Linked DNA regions of Homo sapiens: region 1 is linked to region 2. The links are contacts of gene promoters, found by promoter capture Hi-C in human tissues and cell types (Jung and others, 2019). All regions are on one chromosome and are shown on one strand. The core of a region is centred on a gene start or on the middle of the fragment in contact, and the rest is flanking DNA. Distances in the headings are between cores, read along the strand shown.

What was found. The method cuts DNA at HindIII sites, captures the fragments that hold promoters and counts their contacts. A contact is called where the count stands out against the background at its distance.
Region 1: a contact is called between a fragment that was not itself captured here and the fragment with the promoter of NFIL3 in region 2, in 1 of the 25 tissues and cell types used here (lymphoblastoid cells).

Annotation. Positions count from the first base shown.
Region 1 is chr9:90,881,396-90,884,288 of GRCh38, reverse strand. The region is part of intron 11 of SYK (spleen associated tyrosine kinase); the gene reads right to left. Among named protein-coding and RNA genes, the nearest start is that of SYK, 81 kb to the right of the region's middle. The HindIII fragment of the contact is 5,960 bases long and covers 1-2,893 here.
Region 2 is chr9:91,422,578-91,425,567 of GRCh38, reverse strand. It overlaps NFIL3 (nuclear factor, interleukin 3 regulated), which reads left to right and starts at 1,736. Exons shown (of 2, transcript NM_005384.3): 1 at 1,736-1,928. It overlaps LOC105376146 (synapsin-1), which reads right to left and starts at 1,535. Exons shown (of 2, transcript NR_188612.1): 1 at 1-1,535. RefSeq lists a silencer at 1,399-1,798. The HindIII fragment of the contact is 26,857 bases long and covers 1-2,990 here.

The DNA.
Region 1 (2,893 bases), core at 348-2,847, 540 kb after region 2:
GTATATGTGTGTATATATACACGTATGTGTATGTGTATGTGTATATATACACGTATGTGTATGTGTATATGCGTGTATATATACACGTATGTGTATGTGTGTATATATACACGTATGTGTATGTGTGTATATATACACACACACATATATATATGTAGGGCACTTTGGGTTTGATTTGGGGTGAATGCAGTATTTAATCTATGTATAATTTCTATGGCCATAAACAGCCTCAGTGACACCTGTGATTTTCTCAGTGCCTTAGGGTATGGTTATTAGTGGAGGCTGTTGTGAAGGTGTACTGTGAATAGGATGCTAGGTGGGCCAGTCTTCAGACCCCAGTGGTGACAGCAGTGAGCTGAGTATGCCTGTCCTTGGGCCCTAGGGCGGTATACACTAGCACTGGTGTTAGTAGGTCTAAGAAGGCTGACCCTTGGGCTTTCAGGTAGATTGTGTGGATGCTGCAGTGGCTGGGCATGTGGGCAGGTTCTTGGGTTCCTGGGGAGTGGGTGTGATGTGGGTGATGGCAGTAATGGTGGTAGGGCAACTCACTGGAACCCAAGTGGTCCATGTTGGTGTTGGCGGTGGCTGCAACAGGATGTCATGCTCAAGTATTGGGGCATGTGACTAGGCCAATGGACTTGTGCTCAGGCTCCCTGGTGGTGCATTCAGCTGCTGGCTGTGATACGCAGGGAGGGGTGGTCTCTAGGTTGCCAGCAGTGGCTGCCCTGAAGGCCTACCACCAGAAAGGGTAGGGCCACTCTCAATAGGTGCAGAGTAGGCAGGTAGCTGTGGGATATGCAGTCTTCTTGAGCCTTGGTCCCACAGCAGCCCTCAGCAGTGGTGGTGGTATTTGTTTTTGTGGCATGTGAAAGTGCCTGGCCTCCCTTCTCCCTATGTGGCGGGGCAGTGGCAGCATCAGCCCTGGCCCAAGGAAGGACACAGACCTTTGGAGGCTTGGCTCTCAGAATGGCGCTGGCTATGGGCCTGCTCCTGGGGAGGCTGCGGACATTCTCAGGGGGAGCAGTGTAGGCAGGCAGCTATAGGGGGTGTGATTTGCTTGTGTCTCAGCCCCACAGCAGCCTGTAGCAGCAGGGGGATCTGTCCCTGGGGTGTGTGAAGGTGTCCATTCTCCCCTCTGTCCTTGGCCTGGTGATGGCAGCATCAGCAATAGTCCCAGGGCAAGATGCAGTCCTTTGGGGACTTGGTTCTCAGTATGGCACCAAGCTGCAGCTACTCAGAGCTTGGAAGCCTGTGGGACTCAGCGTGAGTTCCCTCTATGGAGCAATGCCTCTGTGTGATCCCTAGGCAGCTCCCTATGTTAGTCTTAAGGCCCACGTGGGTCGAGGGGTTCTTCTGTCGCTAGGATTGTAGAAGTCCTTGGCTGGAATGTGGAGCCCTGGGGATCTCTCATTTATGCTTTCCCCATATCTGGAAGCTTCTCCCAGCTCCCAGTCATTCCTGGCCAAGCAGGCTGCCTTGTTTCCCTGTGCTTTGCTTTTGGTGCTTCCTGTCGCTCCTTGGTTGCATCTGTGTTCTCTCTTAGACCATCTATTGGAAGTGTGAATATGTACTTGTTATTTTGGTCCGTCTCTACGGAGGAGCATATACTAGTTGCATTTAGTCGTCCATCTTGATCAGTTCTCCACCCAGGTCAATTATTTTAGCATGCACTACTTGCTAGCATCATTAAAAAATGATCTAAGCATTCTAATTTCCTAATTTTAAAAAGCAAGTGATAGTACAGAGGTCAAAACTGCATAGCAAAACCCTCTCTCTGGGTTTGGGATTCAGGGGGCACACAGCGGAGTCTGGTTATCTTCTGCTGATGTCACCTGTGTGAGGTCTCATTGGGGTGGAGAGGGGGACATGATTTCAGTGAAAACTGATTTCATGACACTACAGTGGATCACAAGGAGACATTCAGGACATCAATCTGGAGACCATAAGGTGCCCTGGCACTTCTCTTCCAAATGATACAACTGATTATACTTCTGTTTCCATCACCTTGTGTGCTATTTTAAAATTTTGATCTTACAAGTCATGAACAATACAACCATGTGTGTTATTTCAGGTTTCTTCTGAATTTTGAACTGATGAAAAAAGTAAACCTTTGACAAATCTTAAATGCAATGAAATTTAGGCTGTCTTCAGAATAACCTAGATACATGCATAAATAGGTAGTGTATACTTTTTTCTGGTCATAAAACTAGGGGCATATTCTTTGAGCACTGTACTTTTTAATTTTTCTACCTAACCATGTATAGTAGACATATTTCTAGGTCAGCACATGCAAATAAGTCACTTTTAAAAGGGTTGCATTGTGAGCTTCCTGTGAATCTGCTATGACTGATTGGACCAAACCCTGCGGAGCAGTCGTCAGGCAGTTTCCAGATTTTTGCCGTGGCAGCCCGTGCTAGAGTGCACATTACCAGATGTGTGTGTTTGCTCTCGGAAGGAGCTGCTGGATCAAAGAACACCTGTGTTTTTCAGTTGTGATGCTGCACAAATCTACCCTGTCACGCATGGTTTCCCGAGTGCCAGCGTTCGTTTGCTTCCACAGCTAGCACTTTTCTTTGATCTTGTTTCACTTTTTATTCCTTTTTTTTTTTGAGACAGAGTCTTGCTCTGTTGGCCAGGCTAGAGTGCAGTGGCACGATCTCAGCTCACTGCAACCTCCACCTCCCGGGCTCAAGCAATTCTCCTGCCTCAGCCACCAGAGTAGCTGGGATTACAGGTGCCTGCCACCATGCCTGGCTAATTTTTGTGTTTTTAGTAGAGACGGGATTTCACCATGTTGGCCAGGCTGGTCTCGAACTCCTGACCTCAGGTAATCCACCCACCTCAGCCTCCCAAAGTGCTGGGATTACAGGCGTGAGCCACCACGCCCGGCCCA
Region 2 (2,990 bases), core at 487-2,986:
AGGGGATGTGGTTCTTGCATTAGTCAGCACCGGGAAGATGGTGTCGGGGAACACGCTAAGCCCATATTGTACGTCTGAGTTTTCAGAGCCTTGTCAGCAGAGCTGTACTACCAGATAAATCACGAACAAGAGTGCGTTCAAAACCACAACGCTGCCCTGGAAGGCTTTCCAAAAACTCAACTGATAGGTGATAAAAATTTTTTAAATATGACTTGCGTTATTATGATATTAACTGTGCAAGAAGGGGAAAGGTAGAAAAGACAATCTTGGCGAGTAGATAGATCTGCTGCTCATGGCAGACACTAGGGATGGTACCTGGGTGTTCACTCTGCTCTTCTCTTTACTTTGGTTTTTGCTTTTTAAAAACGAAAGGAGCAAAAAGAAGTGGAAAGTCGTGGAGGCACTCGGCCCAGCCCCCACGTAGTTCAAGGAGACCAGGAGGGAGCTGGCTGGTGGAGGTCCTGCCCACCTGCCACACTCCGTATTTGGGCAAGCCTGTGAGTCACTGTCGGGAACATGGCTCCCTTCGCCAAGGCCAGCACTGACCACTATCCGTGTATCGGTAAACGCAGGGAGTGTGCCACGTGCCTTGACAGTCTAGCGCGACGACTTAAGAAGTCGCGGCTAGGTGCTCTTTTTTCCATTTTTTTACGTCTCTTCCGTAGCCCGGGAATTTGGGAGAGAAGACTACCGTATCCAGTTAGACGCAGAAATAACACTAAGCAGCTATCAGCTCAAAATCACAGGAAGAGATCCCGCGCGGTCGTCTCAAGCCCCAGCACCAAACGACAGTGGGCGTCCCAGCGGGGGCACCCGAGCGCGGACCTTCACATCCTCCGAGGAACGCCGCACCCGCGTGGCGGGGGTGGGTAGATGGACCTCAGCGAGCCTCGTTTCCCAGTCGTGTTACGCAACAACTTTGCAGCCGTCATCTTCGCCCTAATTGTGCAGGGGGCGGTGTTTGTGCGTGGAGCTTTCCCTCCCGGCTCCGGGCCGTCGCGGCTCTCGGGAGAGGCGCCGGGACATTTTAATCGCTGCCTCCGCCGCGCAGCCCTGCGCAGCTGCCCGGCCGCGCCAACCCCTTCCCCGCCGCAGCGCGCCCCGAGTGTTGGCAGCTTGCCAGCCGCCACCCCCCGCCTTCCCTCCTGCCCACCCCAAGGTAGAGGGCTCCTCTCGGGAGTGTGCGGGGAAGGGGAGGCCGAGGTCCGGGCCACGCCCGGGTAGCCGCAACCCGCAGTGCTCAGTCGGCAACAGGTAGCCCAGCAGGCTGCGGCTCTCAGGAAGACAAAAAGCGCCTCTGCGAGCAAGTGAGGGTCGCGGGGAGCGCAGAGCCACCGCGGCGACCGGGAGGGTGAAGGGAGCCAAGAGCGGACGGGGCGGTGGGACGGGGGGCTCCCGGGCTCCTCCGCAGGCTCGCTCCGGTCGTGTCGGCCGCGTGGGCCGTTGCGCAACACTCGTTGCGCCGGGAATGGGGCGCCAGCCCTCGCGGGCGCTCGGACGGCGGTGGCCCTGGCCGGGGAGGGACGCGAGCTGGTAGTGGCGCCGCCGCGGAGGGGGAGCTGAGGGCGGGGAGGCGGGGCGGGGCCGCGGAGTGCCCGCCCCGGCCCGCCCCTGCCGGCCGCGGCCATTGGCGGCGGGCCGGGGGCGGGTGCGGGCGCGGCGATTGGGGCCGCGGCCGCCAGTCACGCGGGGCTGGCGGGCGGCGACGTAGCGCGGCGCTCGGAACTGACCTACTAACACACATCTCTCCGCGCGGCCACGGCGCCCGCGGACCCGGCGCGCCCGCCCGCCTCCCGCGCCGCGCCCTCGCCGCCGCCCGCCTCCCGCCGCGGCCCCGGAGGCCCGGCCCGGCCCGAGCCCCGAGCGCCGGCGGCCCGACTCCCGGCCGCCCCTTTCTTTCTCCTCGCCGGCCCGAGAGCAGGAACACGGTAAGCGCTCCGCCCACCGCCGGCCGGGGGCCCGGCGACCGCTCCCAGGGCGCGCTGCGGGCGGGCGGGCGGGCGCGGGGTGCGGGCCGCGCTGTGTGCGGGGTCGGGCTGTAAGCTGGGCTCGCCAGCGGCGGCGAGTGCGCGCGGGGCATTCATTACATAAACTTTTGCTGCCTTGTCAGGATGGGACTCGCCACCTTAAGGTGGCTGCTTTGATTGCAGCGCCTTCGCGCCGGCACGTAGTCCTGGCTGGTTTGCGCTCTCCCCCCGCTGCTGTTGCATAATGTCTCCTGATTTCAGGAAAATTGATGTTTTGGTAAAGAAGAGCGCCAGGCAGGCTGAGCCCTCTCCGAGCGGGAAGATGCTCTTTCCTCTCTAGTGTCTTTCTTTCTCGTTCCTTCTCTGGGGCTGGCGGCGTAGGGGGGAGAGGAATGGGGGGTTGAGGAATGGGGAATAGTCTTAATTTGCTTGGTGAGAAAAAGGGTTGGTAGCGTGAACGGTGACGGCATTCGGAGAATGCCTGCGCGGCGTTTGTTTGTGTCAGGGGCTGTGTCTGCACAGACGTTTTCCACCCTGTTTGTCGTCAGCGTGTTTTACAAGCCCTCGGGAAGGTTGTGGGATTTGTCCTTTCATACATTGCATAATCTGCCCACGGTGAAATGTTGGCAAGAATTGCGGGCTGATGTGGGAATATGCGCGTATGTGTGCAATGATTTGGTAATTGAGGCGCAGCGTTGGATATTAGATCGTTATTTACGTCTATATTACGTCCCAAATAAACAGGTTTTAAAACGATACTACAAAACCTAAAAGCAAGAATTGCTCGCATTGAATTCTGATCTTGGGTACTACTGGGGTTCGCCCTTTCAATGTTCTCAGCTGTTATTTTTAAATCTGGGACGAACCATTGTGACGTTTACCTCCCCACCTTCCTAATTTTAATGCATTCCATTCGATCAGCCCTTTTTCTCACCTTATTGTCATTGCTTTTTCAGACACGACAAGACAAATCACATAATAGTTTCCTGGAAATGTTGCATTATGTAACTGCCGAATTTGCTG